Linked DNA regions of Homo sapiens: all the other regions are linked to region 1. The links are contacts of gene promoters, found by promoter capture Hi-C in blood cells and fetal thymus (Javierre and others, 2016). All regions are on one chromosome and are shown on one strand. The core of a region is centred on a gene start or on the middle of the fragment in contact, and the rest is flanking DNA. Distances in the headings are between cores, read along the strand shown. Region 1 holds the start of TMEM131L (transmembrane 131 like). Region 2 overlaps MND1 (meiotic nuclear divisions 1). Region 3 overlaps TMEM131L (transmembrane 131 like).

Region 1 (3,712 bases), core at 332-2,831:
GGGACCTTCAGAATCCAAGGGGCAAATAGAAACTTGGAGAAGTGAAGAGAAAAAAAGGGCACATTGAGATGGCACTGGAGATCCTTGCTAAATAAAGGAAGATGTTGGCAAGGAATACAGAAAAAAGTATGAAACAGAGACTACTGGAGGTATTCAAGTTGGAAAATGCAAAGTGTCCCTTTTTTTTTTTCACATCAACAACTTACGTTTATGCTAATCTACTTAAATGTTAAGTCTGGCCAAGCAATTAGACTATTTAACCTTGTTTGGAGTTAAATGCAGACAGTGTGTGAGACTGTGTTCACAGTACTGTATTACGTCTTTAGGAAAGAGGATCTAGATTTCATTTTGTCCTTCTCAGGATTGTGTCTGCTATGCAAGCACTGGTTTTCTATAGTCTGGCTTGTAAGGCACAAGGAGCAATTAAACAGAGGATTAAGGTAAACAGGTGTGTCCCATCACTTCCCCTCTTCATACTATATTGTTCATATTCTCTGAATTTCATACAAGCTACAGTGGAAGCAGTAAGTTAACTTTAAAAAATCATAAGATTGCCCATACTTCTAGGTTATGCAAATTGATTTCTGAATAAGCCCTTGTTTGCGACATCGCTGGTAAAGGCAGGATGTTAACTTAAAGAGATGCCAGATTTTGGACTTGTTAGTTATAGGCATCAAAACCTGGAACTAGGAAATGTATTTCCACGTATTACTTCCATTATCCTACTAATGTTAGAAACAGGCAACTAACCACATCCTCGACCCCAACCATATTTCAGGAGAGGCTGGCTGAATTTTGCAATATGATTCCAAAAGGGAGTATTTGCAGGGTCTTTGAAGCTATAAATCCCCTAGGAAGAGTCTTCCCCACCTGTCAGGACCTGGACAGTGTCCACAGAGGGTGCCGGGCGCACTACCGCCACGCGGCGCTGAGGTCTGCCTCTCGGGTTTTGGGAGAGCTCTTTTTATTCTAAATTACAGACTTTGCAGCCACCGGATATCCTCGCTGCATAACTGGCAGTGGCCATGTGGCTGCACTCGCGTTTCCTGACAACCACTGCATTATTTCCACTAATATCCTGTGTCCAAGGCCTCTCGCTTGGCGACTCCTCGTTCCCACCTCCACCGCCACCTCTTCCCTCGAGGGTAATCTCTCGACCGTGGCCCAAGCGCCTCGACAAAGCGGCAACCACCCAAAAGTTCATGAAAATGCACTTGGCAAAAGTGGGCCGCTAGTCCCCGCGGACAGCTCTAAGCGACCCCGTCCCAGCCGAGGAAAGCGCCCGGGCCCCGCAGAGTGCGCGCTGCGGGGCGGGCCCGCGGCCATGTGCTCCGCGCCGGGGCGGGGCACCCGCGGGTTCGCATTGTCCACTTTCCCCCGCACCCCGCCGCGTTCCGTCCCTCCCTATCTGCGGCGCACACGCGCTCAGAGCAAGCGGCGCGCCCGGGTCTGGAGCTGCAGCAGCTGCGGCAGCGGCGGGGGTGGTGCGGCGCGGGGCGGGGCGGGGCGGGGCGGGGCGGGGCGGGGCGGCACGGGGGCGGGCCCGGGGCGAGGCAGCTGGGGCGCCAGCGAGCTAGCGGCGAGCGCGGCGAGCAACGGAGAGGAGCGCGAGCAGCAGCATGGCGGGGCTCCGACGCCCGCAGCCCGGCTGCTACTGCCGCACCGCGGCGGCCGTGAACCTCCTGCTGGGCGTCTTCCAGGTCCTGCTGCCCTGCTGTCGCCCGGGAGGGGCTCAGGGACAAGGTCAGCCTTGCGCCGCTGGGCTCGCTCTGCCTCTCCACCCCGCCCCCGCTCTTTCTTTTAGGGAACTGCTGAAATCTATAAGAGGGCGAGGGGAGGAAAGGGAAAGGGGCAGGAGGAGGAAGGAAAGCTGTTGCGATTCTCCGCTGATAACATTTTCTGACCACAGCGTCCCGTCCCGCGCCTCTCTGCCCCGTACAGCTGGAGAGCGGGGCAGTCGCGGGGCTTGGGGACCGCTAGCCGCTCGCGCCCTGGAGCCTTTGTGCGCGGGCCCCTGCGCCCCGGGCGCAGCCCCCGCTTTGTGTGGCGCGCGCGGGTGCCCCGCAGCGGCCCGGCTTCCTGCAGCTTTGTTCCCCCGAGCCTGGCCGCCCAGGGTCCACACTCCAGATGCTCGGGCTGCGGAGCCCGGAGTGCCTCGTGGGGTGTCTTCACTCCCACTTCGTCCCCCCACCCCCAGCACGAGCACCCCGAGCCTGCCTGCACGCTGTCGCCTTCGCGTCCGAGGGGCCGCCGGCTCACACCCCACCCATTGTATTTTTATCCTTGGCTCGCCCCTGGGATGGCCTCTGTTCCCAGGAGGAAAAAGAGACGTGTTTTGGTGAGGCGGGGGGCACGGAGGGACGGTAGGGGAAACAGGAAGCGTTTCTTTAGCGTGCATTAAAAACGTGGTGTATTTTTTGGTGTTCCTGCAGCGATTGAGCCGTTGCCGAACGTGGTGGAGCTGTGGCAGGCAGAAGAAGGGGAACTCCTGCTGCCCACTCAGGTGAGGACGACCAGGTGACAGGGCGGCTGTGGGTGTACGAGGGAGGAGAGGCGGGGAGGCCCCCGGTCCTCCCCACCCCCTGTCCAAGCGGCACAGGCGTTCGGGCCACTTTGCAAGGCAAATAAACGTTAGGGGCCGAGCCTGAACACCTGGCAACGGTGGCCTTCCCGGCTCCTCCCACGCCATGTGACAGGGCCTGAGGCAGGCCGGCCCCAAGTTCAGAAGGTGGGAACCCAGGCCACCTCAGCAGGGAAGCGGCCAGCGGTCTGTTCGGCCGTGGGTGTCCTGGGTGCACACTGTTCCCTAAGTGAGCTGGTGCTGTGTGGATGGCAAGTGGCTAAGAGGTTGAGGACAACAGGAGTATTGATTTCATAAATGTTAGAGTGGTATTTGCCATTAGCGTTAAGTAGCTTTGGGATGGAGATGTGACTCTCAAGGATTGTCATCTTGGATTTTCTCCAAGTGCCCTTAATTCCTGTTAAAATACACCCACTTAAGAACTTGAATTTCTGGTTTTTTTCTCTGTATGATGATATGATGATTGCGTGTAGAAAAATAATTACTGACGTTTTATTGGGAATCTGTAGCATCATAGAGGGTTTATTGCTGCAACAGATACAGTACTGCAAAGCTTTTAACTTTTACAAGAAATTCCCATTGACTGTGAAGTGTGCACATTTAAATATAATGTTGTTGACTGCCTTTCACCAGTAACGGTAGTGATCCAAAATGCATTTTTTGGGTGGGAGTGGCTTGAATTATAAGGAAATATTTAGCTTGTGTGCAGTACTTTTTAAGATGTTCATTACTTCCCACGGTGGTGGCAGCACTTAATTCTGTGTTGTGTCTTGCGGCTGTTTAGAAAAACAGGATGTCTAGCTATAACTTTACCGGAGAGGCTGTCCAGTTTTACATTTCAGTTTTCTCCCTCCTATGTGAAACATTCAGAGTGCTGGTTTTGAGATATTTAGAATATTCATTTTGATCAGGGCTAATGAATAACAGCTTCAAGGCAGAGAGGTGATTTTAGAGGAGAATTTTCCTGGACCCTCCTTGAAGGCCAGCAGCCTGAATGAGACAGGTCTTTTGAGAAAGGGCCCCATCAGGATGAGGAGCAGATAGTTTTTCCTTCTCCTAAAAATTTATTCCCAAATGGATTTTTTCCCCGATTTTAAATAATATACATGTGTTTTTGAAGGTTTGGAAGAT
Region 2 (3,712 bases), core at 408-2,907, 94 kb before region 1:
ATTCTTAATGGCATCTAGAATGGTGAATCCTTCCCAGAAGGTTTTCAATTTACTTTGCTCAGATCCGTCAGAGGAGTCACTGTGGCAGTTATAGCCTTACTGAAAGTTTTTCTTAAATAATAAAACTTGAAAGTTGAAATTACTCCTTGATCCACAGGCTGCAGAATGGATATTGTGTTATTAGGCATGAAAACGTTAATCTCCTTGTATATCTTCCTCAGAGTTCTTGGGTGACTAGGTACATTGTCATTGGGCAGTAATATTTTGAAAGAAATCTTTTTTCTGAGCAGCAAGTCTCAACGGTTGGCTTGAAATACCCAGTAAACCATGCTGTAAATCGATATGCTGTCATCTGAGCTTTGTTATTCCACTTATAGGGCACAGGCAGAGTAGATTTAGAATAATTCTTAAGGGCCCTAGGGTTTTCATTGAGCATTGGCTTCAACTAAAGTCACCAGCTGCATTAGCCTCTAATAAGAGTGTCAAGTGTCACCCTGGCCTTTGAAACTTTAAAGTCAGGCATGGACTTCTCCTCTCTAGCTATGAAAGTCCTAGATGGCATCTTTTTCCAACAGAAGGCTGTTTTGTCTACCCTGAAAATTTTTTGTTTAGTGTAGCTTGGCTAGGTCTTCTGGATAACTTGCTTCACTTCATAGTACTTGAAACCTCGTCTTGCACTTTTACATTATGGAGATGGCCTCTTTCCTTAAACTTTATGAGTCAACCTCTTCTAGCTTCCAACTTTTTCTGTGCAGCTTCCTCACCTCTCAGCCTACAGAGAATTGAAGAGAGTTGAGGTTTTGCTCTGGATTAGGCTTTGGCTTAAGGGAACGTTGTGGTTGGCTCGATCCTCTACCCAGACCACTAAAACTTTCTCTATCTCAGCAATACGGCTGTTTTGCTTTCTCATCATTTGCGTGTTTACTAGATTAGCACTTTTAATTTCTTTCAGGAACTTTTCCCTTGCACTCACAACTTGGCTCTTTGGCACAAGAGGCCTAGCTTTCCGCCTGTTTTGGCTTTTGACTGTATCTTCCTAACTAAGCTTAATCATTTCTGGCTTTTGATTGAAAATGAGAGATGTGTGACGTTTTTTCACTTGAATGCTTAGAGGCCACTGTAGGGTTATTAATTGGCCTAATTTCAATATTGTTTTGTCTCAAGGAATAGGGAAGGCCAAGGGAGGGTGAGAGATGGGGGAACGGTGAGTCACTGGAGCAGTCAGAATACACACAGCATATATTAAGTTCACTGTCTTATGTGGGCATGGTTTGTGACACCCCAAAACAATTACAATAGTAACATCAAGATCACAGATCACCGTGACAGATATAATAATAATGAAAAAGTTTAATGCAAGAATTACACAGAGACAAGAAGTGAGCACATGCCATTGGAAAAATGACACCAATAGACTTGCTTGACTCAAGGTAGCCACAAACTTAATTTGTAGAAAACACGCTATCTGAAGTGCAGTAAAGCAAAGCACAATAAAAACGAGGTATGCCTGTGCAAAGAGGGATCGTTCAGGCCATCTTAGAGGATATCATAGGATTTTTTTTAAAAAAAACTTTTTATGTGTGTATATCTTCTTAGTTTTTTAAAAGCAGCTCTAATGAGAAATAAATGACATACAAAAACCTGCTCATATTTAAAGTGTATTCTTTTATAACCTTTGGCATATGTATGTGTCCACGAAACTATCACCACAATCAAGGTAATTGAACATACCAATCAACCCTAAAAGTTTTTTTAATTCCCCTTTGTAAAATCATTCTCTTCCTTCCCTACACTGCTCCCCTCCTCCTATCCCCAGGAAACTTGCTTTGCTTTCTGCCACTATTCATTAGTTTGTATTTCCTAGAATTTTATATAGATGGCATCATGCCGTAGTGTGTACTTTCCCCCACCCCCAGCTTCTTTTACTCAATAAAATTATTTTAAGATTTACCCATGTTGCTTTATGTATTCATTCATTTCTGTTGCTGAGTGGAATTTCAGTGTATGAATATACAACAGTTTATTGATGAACATATAGGTATTAAGCTCTTTTATTGAATGCATAGACATTAAGGATTATGTGCCCTTGATGTATTTATCATTATGAAATGACTTATTTATTCCAGGTAATATTCTTTGTTCTGGTGTTACATAGGAACTCTTTCTTTTGAGTAACTCTTTCTATAGGAAATCTTTTTTTTTTTTTAATAGTAGCATGGCATATCTTTTTCTGTTTACTTTTAATCTTTTTGTATTTTCATATTTAGAGTAAGCTTCTTACATATAGTTGGGACTTGCTTTTTTTGTATAATCTGACAATTTCTGCCTTTTAATTAGGGTGTCTAGACCATTTACATTTAGTGTGATTACCTATGTAGTTATGTTAAATCTGCCATCTTATCTCAACTAGTCTCAAAGTTACTTGAGGACAAGAACTGTGTTTTATTTATTCAACAAATAATTATTGAGCCTCAAGTACTTACCTTCTTACCAGACAATCATTTCTTCCTAAAACTAGGCATAATGGGGGCTGATTCAGCATTTCTTGGTTGACTTCAGAGAAATTCTTTGCATTTGAGGGAAAAGGTCAAATATACGGTTTTTATTTCTTTACTTCTGGATTTCACATAATTTCTACTTAGAAAGTGGGGAAGCTTGCCAAATCTTAATAGAAGTAAGCAAGGAATTCTTGTTAGTACAGTGAATCTAGCTTTTAAAAAATTGAGCTTAATGTCAGTGTTTATTAATTCTGAATGAGAGAATTGGCATCCAGTGTATTTTGTGACATGGCCCTCTTTCCCCACTCTCACGTACCGGAGATCAAAGCTTAATCTGACACACCTGCTCATAAGTTGAAGTCACATCAGAGGCTAACACATAGGTAGATCCTATACCTCCTGTTCTAAGCAGTCCAGAAATAAATGAAGAGCAAGGTTTTGATACGTCATTTCTAAAAGGTTGATAGCCCTTGGCATTTGCTATAGATAACTATTTTTTTAACTCAAATAAAATGACCCTAATGCCATTTCGCAGACCTAAACCTACTTTAATCTTTCACTGGATGTTGAGAAGTCATGAGAGTATCACCCTGTGCCCCTCAGCCATTGTTCTGAAGATCACTTATCATTTTAGAGAAGCAATATGGCTTCATGGAAAGAGTAGTAGTTAGAAAGCAGACATGGATGGAAATCACAGCTTCACTTCTTGACCAGCTGTACAATATTAGAAAAATATCTTAAGCCTTTTAAAGCCTTGGTTTCCTAGTTTGTGAAAGAAAGCTTACACCTACTTCAAGGCGGTTGTAGTGAGGATTAAGTGGTATGTGTAAGATGCCTGGTACTTTAGGCAGTCAGTATATGGTGGCCGCAGATCAGCTAAATCAGTATTGACTCAGGAATAAATACCGTAAGCTTTTTCATTTAGTTAGAACAAATATTTGAGGGTCTACTGTGTGTAAAACATTTTACCAGATACTGAAGGTAGTTCATAAAAGTAGAGGTCAGGGTCCAGACTTCATAAGAAGGAACTTGTAACCTGTGCTGAAGATGAGATATATACACTTGGAAGAGTAAAATGAGTGAAAAGTAATACATGCCAGACTGCCTAAATGAGCATTAGAGATGAAAAATGCTTCAAGAGATGGTGGGATTCACATAAAGATAGAAGCCACTCAGTTCATGTTGGATTGAACTAGGTTCCAAACTTAAGGTTA
Region 3 (3,712 bases), core at 905-3,404, 70 kb after region 1:
AGGATTTGAAGGAGGTGGAGGATTTATTTTTATTTTTTATTTTTTTTGAGACAGAGTCTTGCTCTGTCGCCCAGGCTGGAGTACAGTGGCGCAATCTCAGCTCACTGCAACCTTTGCCTCCCGGGTTCAAGCGATTCTCCTGCCTCAGCCTCCCTAGTAGCTGGGACTACAGGCGTGTGCTACCACGCCCGGCTAATTTTTTGTATTTTTAGTAGAGACGGGATTTCACCATGTTAGCCAGGATGGTCTCTATCTCCTGACCTCGTGATACGCCCGCCTCGGCCTCCCAATGTGCTAGGATTACAGGCGTGAGCCACGGCGCCTGGCCAGGAGTTGGAGGATTTGATGGAGATGAGGGAGTTTGCCATGAGGCTGTCTGGGTGAAGAATGTTCCAGATAGAGAGAACAGCCACTGCAAAGGACTTTAAGGTAGGAGGACCATATACTTGGGATATTCCCAGTGAAGCCAGAAGACCCTTGTGGTGAGAGCACCGTGGGTACAGACCTGGAGAGGGGTGTGGAGTTGGTGAGGTCACAGGGAGAGCACAGCGTGAGGCCTTGGAAATGCGGAGTTCTTGTGGGGATTTTGAGCAGAGCAGTGATGCCATTTGAATTAGGTTTAAAGAGGCCATGCTGGCAGTGCTGAGCCTGGGTGGCAGGGAAACCAGTGAGGCCCTTACAGCCAGGAAGCAAGAGATGGAGAGACATGATGGGTGCTTGGATCAGGTGTGGCAGTGGGCCTGGTGAAAGCGGAGCTCATGGGATTTCCGATGGATGGGATGCGGGGTGTGAGAAAGAGAACAGTTAGGGATGACTCCAGGGTTATTGGCTTGAACAACTGAGCGGAGATGGCTGTGGGCAGTTGGGTGTGGGGGTAAGATCAGGAGCTCAGTTTCACACCTGTTGAGTTTTGGGATGTCTTTTCGACATTCCAGAGCACATGTGGATGGGCAGTTGGGAAGGGTGCTGGGCTAGAGATGTAAATTTGGGGTGGTGTTTACAGCCTTCACGTTGGATCAGATAAGCATTGAGTCATTTTAGATTGCTTAGAAAAGAGGACCAGGGTCTGGAGCCTGGGGTGTCTCTGCATTCAGAAGGGTGGTAGAGGAGACTGAGAGGTGGCCAGCGAGTTAGGGGAAGTGAAGCAACATAACAAAACCAATTATTTAAAAGCTAACTTTTGTTAGCTTTTAAATAATTTATTAATGTGGAAATATGCTGTTTGAATCAAAAAAAGAAATAACTATAAGCTGTATTTAGGAAGAGTGTACCTTCCTATTGCTCTTGAGTTTTCAAAAAGCACATCGTTCTGAACATCTTTAATATTCTCACAGGTTCAGAACCATTTTGGAGAGTCAGGCAAAAGGAAAGTGTCTGATATTCTACTCATCCTAACGTTGCTGTTAATATTTTGGTATTTGCCTTCTCATTTTCCTTTGTATATTTTTTTTAGTTGTAATCTTGTTGCACACAGCAGCTTTGTTTCCTTTTGTTTACTTGTCACGGCAACGGCAGCACTTTTTTCATGTTGCTGTTTACAATCTTCAAAACACAATTTTTATTGGAGCGCTCTGCTTCTTTTGGAATGGGTATTTATTGAGAGAAGGATTGAATGGACAAAACCACGTTGCTACCAGCTGATCTTTGCTTTTCCCTGCCTTCCTGCACATCTGCATAGGATTCATACCGTGCTTTGTCTGGGGATGGAGAATGCTGGAAAGACAGGGGAAGTTGTTAGGATCTGGGCTGAAAATCCAGGAGCAAGACTGGGGCAGACCTGGCCACTGGGGGGGTTAACAAGCTGCTGATGGGGCAGAGGGAGTGAGGGCCTGTGGAGAGGGACTCCTGGGCTTGAGGGACCACGCAGGGCCATTCTTTCTTTTGCAGACATCTTCAGCAATAACACTTCAGTGCCTCAAGGGTTTGAAAGAAGAATTACAATTTAAAAGGAAAACTCTTCATGTATGATTTGCATATGAGTGGCATCTGTATAATTAAGAACAATTAAGTTCCCTGAGCTGAATTGAAAGGGAGGCTCCTGCTTCAGTTGCTGCAGTGCCTGCAGTGCAGCCTCTAGCTGTCAGGGCACTGGAGTTCTGTTGGAGGCATTCTGCCCACCTCCCCACAACCTCTAATAAAAGAAATCCTGAAACACTTTGCTGGGTGCTTGGCAAAACTCTTTACAAACACATTTCATTTAATCCTCACAATGGATTTAGGGGGTCTGTGTCAGTCAGATTCTCTAGAGGGACAGAACTGACAGAATCGATCGATCTATCTAGCTATCTGTCTTGTCTGTCTGTCTGTCTATCTATCTCCCTCCCTCCCTCCCTCCCTTCTATGTATATATATAAAGGGGAGTTTATTACAAAGTATTAAACTCACCCGATCACAAGGTCCAATAGGTTGTCTGCAAGCTGAGGAGCAAGGAAACCAGTCCGAGTCCCAAAGCTGAAGAACTTGGGAGTCTGATGTTCCAGGGCAGGAAGCATCCAGCACGGGAGAAAGCATAGGAAAAAGATGTTGGCTGGGAGGCTAAGCCAGTCTAGCCTTTTCATGCTTTTCTGCCTGCTTTATATCCTGGCTGCGCTGGCAGCTGATTAGATGGTGCCCACCCAGATTAAGGGTGGGTCTGCCTTTCCCAGCCCACTGACTCAAATGTTAATCTCCTTTGGCAACACCCTCACGGACACACCCAGGATCAATACTCTGCATCCTTCAATCAAGTTGATACTCAGTATTAACCATCACAGGGTCTTACCTTAATTTTATAATAGTGGAAACTGAACTTCTGATCACAAGAGCATTAGATGATCTCTTGTACTCATCTTTATGGTTAACTCCACCTTTGTAGATTGTTCCTGATTGGGACCCAGTGAACCTGTTACAGGAAAGAGGTTCTGATCTAGACCCCAAGAGAGAGTTCTTGAATCTCACACAAGAAAGAATTCAAGGCAAGTCCATAGTGCAAAGCAAAAGCAGGTTTATTAAGAAAGTAAACGAATGAAAGAATGGCTACTCCATAGTCAGAACAGCCCTGAGGGCTGCTGGTTGCCCATTTTCATGGTTATTTCTTGATGATATGCTAAATAAGGGGTGGATTATTTATGCCTCCCCTTTTTTGACCGTATAGGGTAACATACTGATGTTGCCATGGCATTTGTAAACTGTCATGGCGCTGGTGGAGTGTAGCAGTGAGGACAACCAGAGGTCGCTCTTGTGGCCATCTTGGTTTTGGTGGGTTTCGGCCGGCTTCTTTACTGCAACCTGTTTCATCAGCAAGGCCTTTATGACCTGTATCTTGTGCTGACCTCTTATCTCATCCAAGACTTAGAATGCCTTAACTGTCTGGGAATGCAGCCCAGTAGGTTTCAGCCTCGTTTTACCCAGCTCCTATTTAAGATGGAGTTGCTCTGGTTCAAAAGCCTCTGACAAACCTGTAGGAATTTAGCCTCATTGTTTCTTCCACTGCTGTGTTATATCTGATGGACTCCTTTCTCCCTAGACTAACTGGGAAGCAAGATGCAACTTTCCCTGATTTTTTCTCTTCTGATTTTGCAAGAACTCTGCAGTTTCACACAACACTGAACAACTTTAAGTAGAGCGGGAACACAAGTATTTTCCCTTGTAAGGTTCCTGCCAGCCACCCCACAGGAAGGAGGTAATGTGTATCGGTATTTGAGGATGTTTTAAGCAATCTTCAAAGAGTAGG

The links. The method cuts DNA at HindIII sites, captures the fragments that hold promoters and counts their contacts. A CHiCAGO score of 5 or more calls a contact.
Region 2: a contact is called between a fragment that was not itself captured here and the fragment with the promoter of TMEM131L in region 1, in 1 of 17 cell types (activated CD4 T cells). The highest score is 5.5, in activated CD4 T cells.
Region 3: a contact is called between a fragment that was not itself captured here and the fragment with the promoter of TMEM131L in region 1, in 6 of 17 cell types (activated CD4 T cells, non-activated CD4 T cells, naive CD4 T cells and 3 more). The highest score is 13.9, in activated CD4 T cells.

What each region holds. Positions count from the first base shown.
Region 1 is chr4:153,464,779-153,468,490 of GRCh38, forward strand. TMEM131L (transmembrane 131 like) reads left to right here and starts at 1,582. Exons shown (of 35, transcript NM_001131007.2): 1 at 1,582-1,743; 2 at 2,433-2,503. The coding sequence starts at 1,620. RefSeq lists enhancers at 1,043-1,222, 2,593-3,258, 2,753-2,842, 3,213-3,272 and silencers at 1,263-1,412, 1,453-1,552, 1,923-2,282. The HindIII fragment of the contact is 8,794 bases long and covers 1-3,132 here.
Region 2 is chr4:153,370,825-153,374,536 of GRCh38, forward strand. All of the region lies in intron 4 of MND1 (meiotic nuclear divisions 1), which reads left to right. Among named protein-coding and RNA genes, the nearest start is that of MND1, 28 kb to the left of the region's middle. The HindIII fragment of the contact is 1,228 bases long and covers 1,044-2,271 here.
Region 3 is chr4:153,534,405-153,538,116 of GRCh38, forward strand. All of the region lies in intron 3 of TMEM131L (transmembrane 131 like), which reads left to right. It overlaps LOC105377498 (a long non-coding RNA gene), which reads right to left. Exons shown (of 3, transcript XR_939363.3): 2 at 2,386-2,468. Among named protein-coding and RNA genes, the nearest start is that of TMEM131L, 70 kb to the left of the region's middle. RefSeq lists enhancers at 13-589, 590-1,165, 1,680-2,185. The HindIII fragment of the contact is 4,363 bases long and covers 1-3,712 here.